Regions from separate parts of the Homo sapiens genome. Here region 2 is linked to region 1. The links are contacts of gene promoters, found by promoter capture Hi-C in human tissues and cell types (Jung and others, 2019). All regions are on one chromosome and are shown on one strand. The core of a region is centred on a gene start or on the middle of the fragment in contact, and the rest is flanking DNA. Distances in the headings are between cores, read along the strand shown.

Region 1 (4,928 bases), core at 1,632-4,131:
AGGGCTCCACTGAAGCCCAGAACCTGCAGGGAGAAGCAGATCCTGAGTGGGCGCCCCTGCCCCACCAGTGCCTCCACCACCAGAACCTTGAGGCCCCCTTCTATGTTCTCTAGCCCAGAACCTGTTGGGGGCATCATTTTTGGGGATCCGTGGCACGTCGATAGGGTCATCAGTGAATTCATATTCCTGGATCTTGGGCTGAAGGTTTTTGGATTTGGGCCGTCCTGGGCCAGGGCCCGGCCCATGTCCTGCCTTCCCTTCCAGTTTCTGCTTCTTGGGCTTCCCATGTTTGGGGGGAGCTCCAAGTTCATGGTCTCGACCCAGCTTCAGGAATCGTCTGTCACCTTTCTTATCCTGCCAGTCGGTGAGGATCTGAAATTTACAGAAAGTGTCACTGAGGGGGAGAAGGGAAAACACAGAATATCTCTTTCCTCTAGTGAATAAATTAGGATCTAGAATCTACAGAGGCTCCTGGGTCTTTCCCCATCCTCTTTTTACCTAGTAAACTCTTACTCATCCTTCAAAATTCAGCTCATTTTCTGTGCCTGGCCTCCTAGAACTTTATTCATATACTTCTCATAATCTCATTCACTTGTTCATCTATACTGATTCACTTCTGTATCACCCATGCCAGTCACATACTGTTTAACAGAAGAGTCCTCTCAGCAAACCTTCACTTCGATGTCACCACTACTGAGATGCCTTCTCTCAATCAGTTACCCAGGTTCTTAGATGCTAAAATACAACTTGAGTCATAGCCTTCCTCAAGGAGGGTCCATGGATTCCCAGGGACAAGTTAATTCCATTCATCCTTTTAGGTCCAGTTGGCACCTCCTTCCTCCACAAGTCTCTGGCACTTCACAGCTCCAACGTGCACCCAATCGTGTTGTTTGGTCACACTGGAATGACCATCACACCTTGTCTCTTCAACTAGACCATAAGCTACTGAGGACCAGAAAGCCCACCTTAACCATCTCTATTTTGCAGAATACAGCATAGCGCCTGGCACACAAGGCTCAAGGCATCTTTATGCAGTGAATAAAGTCATCAGAGTAGCAAATAAATAACATCTGAAGTACTTACTTAGTGTCTGGCATTGGGCTGAGTTTTTGCAAAAAATTCTCTTTTAATCCTCACAAAAGCACTAAGGTAGGTCCTATTATTCACCCCACTTTGCAGATAGGGAAACTGACACTCAGAGATATGAGGCAACTTTCTCAAAGTCACATAGCTAGGAAACAGCAATGCTAGCAAGCGCTTATGCCAGGATTCAAATCCAGGTTTCCCCATTCCAGTTCCCTAGGACTGCTAACCACAACATCACATCACCTGGTATGTACTTGACTTTCTCACTTTCCTAGTTGCCAAGCTCCCTGACAGCCATAACTGTCCTAATTACCTTTCTCTAATGACTAGCATAGGACCCAGAACACAATGGGGGATGAGTGGGGTGCCAATAAAAGCTTACTGAATTAGAAATCTTGCAATTTAAGAGGATCATGCATATTCTTGTGTATTTTTTGTGTCATGCAAACCCAGTTTGCGTCTCTCTCCCTCTCCCCACAAACCCCTGTACCCCAAGTCTCAGCATATGGGGCTAACTCAATGACCCATCCCATAACTTGTTGCAGTCCATCTCTGGTGCTGGCCCCTCTCTGGGGTTATCACCTGGGTTTCGGCCTCAAGCACACGCAGGCGCCGGCTGGCAGAAGACAGCAGGGTCTCCAGCTCCAGCTGCAGGGTGTCCAGCTCCTCGATGCCGATGCCATCATCCTCAGAGCGTGCCAGCACTGCCGTGTAGCGGGGACAGACCTTCAGGTGATCCACAGACTTGAAGTCGTGGAACTGCAAGGGGCAGTCTTTCAACTCACTCATGGCCCAGGATATGGGGATCCTGTGGAGCTGGAGAGGACAGGGCCATTGATGGGAGACAAAGTGGTCTGAGAAAAGCCCAAGGGCTTCTTACCTCCAGGGACAGCCTCAAGGAAGCCCAGCTTCAGTCCCTTACTGACAAAATTGATGGCACAGTTCCTACTCACAGGGCACTTAACTGGGTACCAAGCTAGGTGCAGAGCACTTTATCAGTTTATCTCACTGAATTTCTCACTCAGCACCATGAACAAGGACCATTGTGATCTCGTTTTTACAGAGAAAGAAACTGAGACTCTGTAAGGGTGGGTATGTGCCTATGCTTCCAAGATGCAATTTGAACCCCGCTAGTCTTGAGTCTGCACCCTGATCACCATGCTATACTGCTATGCCTTGCCTCGCCTTTCTGATGCTCTTTCCTTCCCTTCTATTTCTCTTGGGTTCTGCTAAGACTTTGAGTTCCAAGCACCCCATTCTTACCATGTTCTCTGGGACTCTTGGCCTCTTTTCTTACCCTATTCCACCTTTCTCCCTTCTCTAGTCACTAACAGTGGTTTAGAACGTGGGCTGGTAAGCCAGACAGACCTGGGTTCAAGCCCAGGCTTTACCATTCTCTACTTATATGCCCCTGAACATGTTATTTGACCTTTTTCAGTCTCAGTTTTTCCATCTGTAAAATGGGGACAAAAGAAGTCTCGGTCTGTTTCCCCATTAAAAGTCTGAATCTGAAAAATGGGGATAACAATAGTACCTACCTCCCTGGGATGTTCTGAGGATTAAGAGATGATGCCCGTCAAGAGCCCAGTTCAGTGTCTGGCACAGAAGTGGGACTGTTTAATGGCTGGCCCCGCCCGGGGGTCGCCCAAATGTCCCGCCTTCAGAGTCCTCGTTCTCTAGGGACACCCTAGTGCGACCCCCGCCCCCTCTACCTCCTCGCTGCGGCCTCCTACGGCCCCAGGGGCCGCGGGAGGGGGCGGGGAGTTCCGGTCGATGTGAGCAACCGCCCCGGAACTGGCTATGGGCGGGCCCCTTGCAGTTGACGCGGGGGCGGGGAGTCAGCGAGGGCGAGCCTACTGGAGTTTGCCGGGGGTGGGAAGAAGGTGGGCCTCGAGCAAAGCCGCTAGAGGTGGGGTGCGGGTGGTCGGCCTCAGGCGAGCCCCGGGGCACAGCCCGGGGCGGGAGGCGGAGCTTGGCGGCCGAGATCTCCGCGCTGCAGTTAGCCCCGCCGAGCGCCAGGAGCTGCGGGTAGGAGGGGCGAGAGAAAGGATGGGGGTACAGAACCGGAAGAAACGAAGGGCTCGTCCGCTTCGGCTTGTCCTAATTTGGTGCCCAATCTGAAGCTGGGCTGTACCATTGCATACCTGGGGGAGGCTGTGGCAAAGGTGACAAGAAGGCCGAAGGCACAAAGGGAAGCTGCACCCATTCCTGGAGGAGCTTAAATAGTGACTCGAGTGCAAGAATTTAAAAATACCGAGACAGCCCTAGGTGGAAAACTTCCGGAAGGCCCAAGCGTTCGTAAGGGCTCTCTACCCCGCTCGGAGCATAGATGGTACCGTCCGGAAGTCCGGGCGGAGACCGTAGCTGCGCTTCTCGCGAAAGGGCAGGCATCGCGGGGCTGGCCACTTCCGTACTTCCGCTTTCCGGCCCAGCCAGCGCCCGCGATGGTGAGAGAGCCGGGCCCCCGGCCAGGGACCCCCGGCTGTTCGGCCTCAGGGCAGTGGGTCGGTGGGAGATGTGGCTTTGCCGCAGGGGCGCGGGGCCGAGGGATGTCCGGGGGTTGTGGGGACACGATGAGGGTGGGAAAAAGAGACGGGGCGGGGGCCCGAGGTGAGGAAGGGGCGAGTGGGGGTACTCCCTGGTATGAAGTGGGCCTTGTGGCTTCACGGTCAGCCTTCGAAGCAGGTAGGGGCTTTTCCTGAGCCCTGTAGGAACCCGGAAGTGGGGTCTCCTAGGCTCTTTGGAGCATTTCGAGGGTACGTAGTCGGCCTCTTAGCCTCTGAGGCATGAAGCAAGTCCACCTGCCTATCCACAGTGGAACTTCACGACATACGCCCTTTGTCCTCTTCTGCCTTCCTGACCCTACAGTTGCTTAAGGCAGGCGGCCACACTTCCTTATCCCATTCTTGGTACCTCCAGCCCTGCTTCCACCCCATTGGAGGATCTCTCGTGTTGCTTCCATTCAGGCCCTTCCTGGTCAGAACTGAACTGTGTCAGCCTTAGTGTATGTTAGCTGTGATACTGCTCATCCCTCCCTTCCTGGAAGTCCTCCCTTTTTCATACATGTGGGCCTTTTTCATACATGTGGGCCTTTTTCATACGTGTGGGCATTCCTGGGAGTTGTGACTTTGGATGACCATCTCCCTCTTCGTCACACCTTCCCTGGTGATACCGATCTAGTCTCCTGGCTTCGATAACTTTCTTCATTCTGATGACTCCTAATCTGGCTTCTCAGCTCTCTTTCAAGGTTTGCCTGGATATCTTGAAGAGACCTTGAAATTAGACCTCTAGTTCAAAACTCATATTCTATTCTAAATTTGTTCTTCCTCCTGGGTTCCCTATCCTGGCAAACTTTTGTGACCTCATGTCTCTGCTAAAAATCTGTATTTTTTTTTTCTAGTGGGGCACATGCCTCTTGATTTTTAAAAGTTCAAGTTTATTGAGGTATTACATGAGACTACATCTGTTTTATTCATGAAAGGACAGGCGTCACGGAGCCAGTCACCCTTTTTAGGTTTACTTTCTATAACTGTTGACAAAGGCCAGGCGTGGTGGCTCACGCTTGTAATCCCAGCACTTTGGGAGGCAGAGGCGGGCGGATCACGACGTCAGGAGATCGAGACCATCCTGGCTAACACGGTGAAACCTCTTCTCTACTAAAAATGCAAAAAATTAGCCGGGCGTGGTGGTGGGCACCTGTAGTCCCAGCTACTCAGGAGGCTGAGGCAGGAGAATGGCGTGAACCCAGAAAGCAGAGCTTGCAGTGAGTCGAGATCGTGCCACTGCACACCAGACTGGGCAACAGAGTAAGACTCCGTCTCAAAAAAAAAAGCGTTGCAAAA
Region 2 (4,748 bases), core at 875-3,374, 73 kb after region 1:
TCTGTCAGTGATCTCTGCCAGGGAGGCTGAAAGAACATCCAGCCCCACCCGTGGTCCCTTCCCGCCTCAGGCTATGTGACAGTATGACTCTCCACCTATTTCTTCGTTTCCACTGGAAACACTAGTAAAACAATTCCTCAGCCTCGACCCCAGGGAGCGGCCCCCACTAAACCAGCTGACGTGGGACCCCTGGGTCAATGCTGGCCAGGAGATGCGGCTGACATCAAAGACCCTGGGCCCCTGGGCCCCCTACAACCCTGGTCACGGTGGCCATGGGATTCCAGGCAGCACACATCTCAGAATCAGTATTTCCCCCACCCCACAAAAAATACATATATGGGTCGGGCGCGGTGGCTTGCGCCTGTAATCCCAGCACTTTGGGAGGCCGAGGCCGGCGGATCACGAGGTCAGGAGATCGACACCATCCTGGCTAACACGGTGAAACCCCGTCTCTACTAAAAATACAAAAAATTAGCTGGGCGTGGTGGCGGGTGCCTGTAGTCCCAGCTACTTGGGAGGCTGAGGCAGGAGAATGGCATGAACCCGGGAGGCGGAGCTTGCAGTGAGCCGAGATCACACTACTGCACTCCAGCCCAGGCGACAGAGTGAGACTGCGTCTCAAAAAAAAAAAAATTATATGCACAAATATGGGCATCGCTGGTAAGAAGAGTGGCAAAAACACAAGTGGTTCTCTTGTTTTGGGCTCAGACATGTGACTGTGGCATCACAGGCCCCCGGGATTTAGAATTCTTCTGAAAGGCATCCTGTGCACTCCCGAGCACCAGCTTGAACAGATGAAAAGGCTGAGCTGGAGGGGCTGGGACACAGTCCACCTTGACGACAGCTGCTCCTGGCTGTGCGGGGGGCCCCAGGAAAGGCCGTTCCCCCACTAGGACCGCCAGGCCCTACAGAGGCTCAAACTCCTTTGCTGTTTGGAATCTTCCCTCCCCAGCCCCCAAGCCTCATCAGAGGCTGCCTTTTCTGTTCACTGACCACAGCTGCTTTGACTCCATTAGCCTCGAGCTCCTGGAAGAAAAGAAAGAACCTTGTTTTCCCTGGGCTCAATGCCAAGAGACCATGGGCAGTTGCTCAAGATTCACTTGTGAAACTCCGGATCTCAGGAGGAGGGAAGCTTGGGACAAATACCGAGCCTCCCACCCCCACTCCAACTCTGTTACTGAGCACTTTACGGAAGGAGCAGGTAGGCCCCGCCACAGCTTCATCAAGGGTGGACTGGGATAGCTTCTGTGCTAATACAAACATCAGGCCTCCCTGCCAGACAGCCCACCCCATGGAGCCAGCCTGGCACCGGGCCAGCCTCCAGCCATAACTGCAAAAGAGCAGGAGAGCCCGGAATAGCAGGCCCTCTTCAGCGAGCTTCAGCCGCTTTGCCCATAGGCTGCAGGGTTTGGGTCCGCTGCCATAAATAGCTCCCAGACCATCTTTGGTAATATAGGCCTTTGCCTTAGTATTTACTACATCCAAATAGGCTTTATAGTAAGAGTAGTGAAACAATAGGTTTTGTTTTGTTTTTCGTTTTTTGTTTGTTTGTTTCTTTTTTGAGACGGAGTCTCACTCTGTCGTCCAGGCTAGAGTGCAATGGCACAATCTCGGCTCACTGCAACCTGCACCTCCCAGGTTCAAGCAATTCTCCTGCCTCAGCCCCCCGAGTAGCTGAGATTACAGGTGCCCACCACCATGCCCGGCCAATATTTTGTACTTTTAGTAGAGACGGGATTTGGCCATGTTGGCCAGGCTGCTCTCAAATGCCTGACCTTGTGATCCACCCGCCTTGGCCTCCCAAAGCGCTGGGATTACAGGCGTGAGCCACTGCGGCTGGCTGTGATAGAGTTTTTGAATCCTCTTTTTTTTTTTTCCCAGAGACAGGCTCTCACTCTGTTGCCCAGGCTGGAGTGCAGTGGCACAATCATAGCTCACTGCAGCCGCGACCTACTGGGCTCCAGTGAACCTCCTGCCTCAGGCTCCTGAGTAGCTGGGACTACAGCCACCATGCTCTGCTAATTTTTTTTTATTATCTAGTGTAGAGACAGGGTCTGGCTATGTTGCCCAGGCTGCTCTTGAACTCCTGGCCTCAAGCGATACTCCTGCCTCAGCCTCCCAAAGTGCCGGGATATCCGGCATGAGCCACTGCACCTGGCCAAGTTTTTAAATCTTTCAGTCACAGACTAAATAAAACAGTCACCTACAAGTTCTACAAGTTCAGCCTTTTTTTTTTTTTTTTGAGATGGAGTCTCGCTCTGTCACCCAGGCTGTAGTGCAGTGGCACGATCTTGGCTTACCACAACCTCTGCCTCCCAGGTTCAAGCGATTCTACTGCCTCAGCCTCCCAAACAGCTGGGAGTACAGGCGCCTGCCATGCTGGCCAGCTAATTTTTTTGTTTTTAATAGAAACCGGGTTTCACCATGTTGGTCAGGCTGGTCTTGAACTCCTGACCTCAGGTAATCTGCCTGGCTCGGCCTCCCAAAGTGCTGGGATTACGGCGTGAGCCACCATGCCCAGCCTAAGTTCAGCCTTTCATGCTTGTCTTGAGTTGTCCAATACTGGAAAATGCCAGCTCACACTGATGAGAAGCTCCTACTCTTTGGGGCTACCTATGAGCCCACTTTGAAATCCCGAGGTTGAAAGTCCTGAACATGAAAGATAAGCTGTCTGGCAAGTTAGGATGGGCATTGATGGAGAAATGCCTTACAGCTTGAGTAGTACTTTTTCACCTAACCACTTAAACGGTTATTATAAAATGGGACACTGAGAAATTAGAAGAGTGACTTAATCCCACCTGCTCAATTGAAGCTCCTCTGATAGGTGAATTTAATTAGGAAATTGTTACTTATGGTATCAATTACATGGTCAGCTCAAGCCTCAAATTCAGCTGACTTTAGTTTCAAAATCAACTGCAATTTTGTTTTTTAAGGAGCCTGGGGTCTTGCTATTGTGCTCCAGCCTGGCCTTGAACTCCTGGTCTCAAGGGATGCTTCCACCCCAGCTTGCTGAGTATCTGGGACTGCAGGCACGTGTCACTGTGCCCAGCTGTTTTTTTTTTTCTTCTTTGGTAGAAAAAGTGCCATTAGCTGTAATCCTACATTAAAGAGAATACTTTGACAATAGATTCGTCTCTTCCTTTAGCCCCCTCCAACCTTCCAGATAAAACCCCACCCCAAAGAACACAGGCAAAGAAGATACATCAGCCTCAATAATTTATTGCAAACTCCCTAATATCACATGCTAGTGCGCTTGCGAATTCACTCAGGAATGTTCCGGGATGGGGGCCAGAAGGTAGAGAGCACCATGAAAGTACAGCCTGCGAGGCCAGATTGCTAAGGGGCAGACTTCATGCCAATGGAGGGACAGACTTCAGGACCAGTCTGGATGGGCTAAGCTGCCTTGGGCAGGAAGGAGCTGGATCAGGCCAGGAGCTTGAGGTTCTCCTTTGGCCAACCCACCCCAGGTTTCCAGCTCCTCCTCCTCACTCAGGGTCCTGCGCGGTGAGGGAGGTGTGGGGAGGTTCGCGGCTCTACAGCTGCCAGGCTTGTGGGCACTACCAGTTAAGCGTGAGGCCCCCAGTCAGTCCTTCACTGGGGAAAGCTTCCAAGGACTTGGGCTTTCACTGCAGTATCTTCAGACAGGTCGGGATAAGGGATGAGGCCTTGCCCTTGGGGGGCTGCCCTTCCTCCGTAGCATCGAGGAGCTGCTGCAGGTAACAGGAGGTGCCAAGCAGTACGTGGCCTGTGGCCTGCATGCTGAAGAGGGCCCAGCGGAAAGCTTCCCTGGGTGGAATGAGAGGGCACGCAAGTCAAAACCACGAAGTAGGTCGGGCATGGCGTTCACGCCTGTAATCCTAGCACTTTGGGAGGCCATGGAGGGCGGGTAACCTGAGGTCAGGAGTTTGAGACTAGCATGGCCAACATGGCGAATCTCTGTCTCTACTAAAAATACAAAAACTAGGCAGGCATAGTGGTGGGTGACTGTAATCCCAGTTACTCCAGAGCCTGAGGCAGGAGAATCGCTTGAACCCAGGAGGCGGAGGTCACAGTGAGCCGAGGTGGCACCACTGCACTCCAGCCTGGGTGACAGAGCAAGATTCAGTCTCAAAAAACAATCAAACAAAAAACACAAGGCTGGGCTTGGTGGCTCATGCCTGTAATCCTATAACTTTAGGTGGCCGAGGTGGGTGGATCATTTGAGGTCAGGAGTTTGAGACCAGCCTGGCCAACATGGCGAAACCCCGTCTCTACTAAAAAATACAAAAAATTAGCCGGGCGTGGTGGCAGACACCTGTAATCTCAGCTACTCGGGAAGCTGAGGCACGAAAATCACTTGAACCTGGGAGACAGAGGTTGTAGTGAGCTGAGATTGTGCCACTGCACTCCAGCCTGGGTGACAGAGTGAGTCTCTGTCTCAAAAATAAATAAATACATAATAAATAAAAACAAGAGTGTACCCCCTCCCTGCACCCCCTTATTCCCATGCTGGCCTGGAAGGGATTGGTTTCATTATGTTTGTTTTCTTCATTAATAACATTTGAATACCACTGAGGTGGTAGCACTAAAAGCATTTCATCAATTCTAGAGCGATGTGCAAATAGGAACAGATGCTGCAGATGGGATCAAGATTAGTGCGAGGACCTGCAATTCCACCTTAACTGAGATGCCCGGAACCTCCCTACTTTCTCATGCAAAACCCCAGCTCATTTCATAAGGCTTTTATTTTTCTACTACTACTTTGGACC

Evidence for each region. Contacts are between HindIII fragments. The study calls those that stand out against the background at their distance.
Region 2: a contact is called between a fragment that was not itself captured here and the fragment with the promoter of TADA3 in region 1, in 4 of the 25 tissues and cell types used here (adrenal gland, aorta, mesenchymal stem cells and 1 more).

Annotation. Positions count from the first base shown.
Region 1 is chr3:9,789,592-9,794,519 of GRCh38, forward strand. TADA3 (transcriptional adaptor 3) reads right to left here and starts at 2,882. Exons shown (of 9, transcript NM_006354.5): 1 at 2,625-2,882; 2 at 1,669-1,902; 3 at 122-372; 4 at 1-23. The coding sequence starts at 1,875. ARPC4-TTLL3 (ARPC4-TTLL3 readthrough) reads left to right here and starts at 2,957. Exons shown (of 12, transcript NM_001198793.1): 1 at 2,957-3,533. The coding sequence starts at 3,531. ARPC4 (actin related protein 2/3 complex subunit 4) reads left to right here and starts at 3,491. Exons shown (of 6, transcript NM_005718.5): 1 at 3,491-3,533. The coding sequence starts at 3,531. It also overlaps a transcript of OGG1 not described here. RefSeq lists enhancers at 1,209-1,709, 2,814-3,340, 3,267-3,366, 3,341-3,867, 4,067-4,156 and silencers at 2,697-2,786, 2,847-3,136. The HindIII fragment of the contact is 18,412 bases long and covers 1-4,928 here.
Region 2 is chr3:9,863,511-9,868,258 of GRCh38, forward strand. It overlaps CIDEC (cell death inducing DFFA like effector c), which reads right to left. Exons shown (of 7, transcript NM_001321142.2): 7 at 3,204-3,786. The coding sequence ends at 3,624. Among named protein-coding and RNA genes, the nearest start is that of CIDEC, 14 kb to the right of the region's middle. RefSeq lists a silencer at 575-869. The HindIII fragment of the contact is 3,135 bases long and covers 558-3,692 here.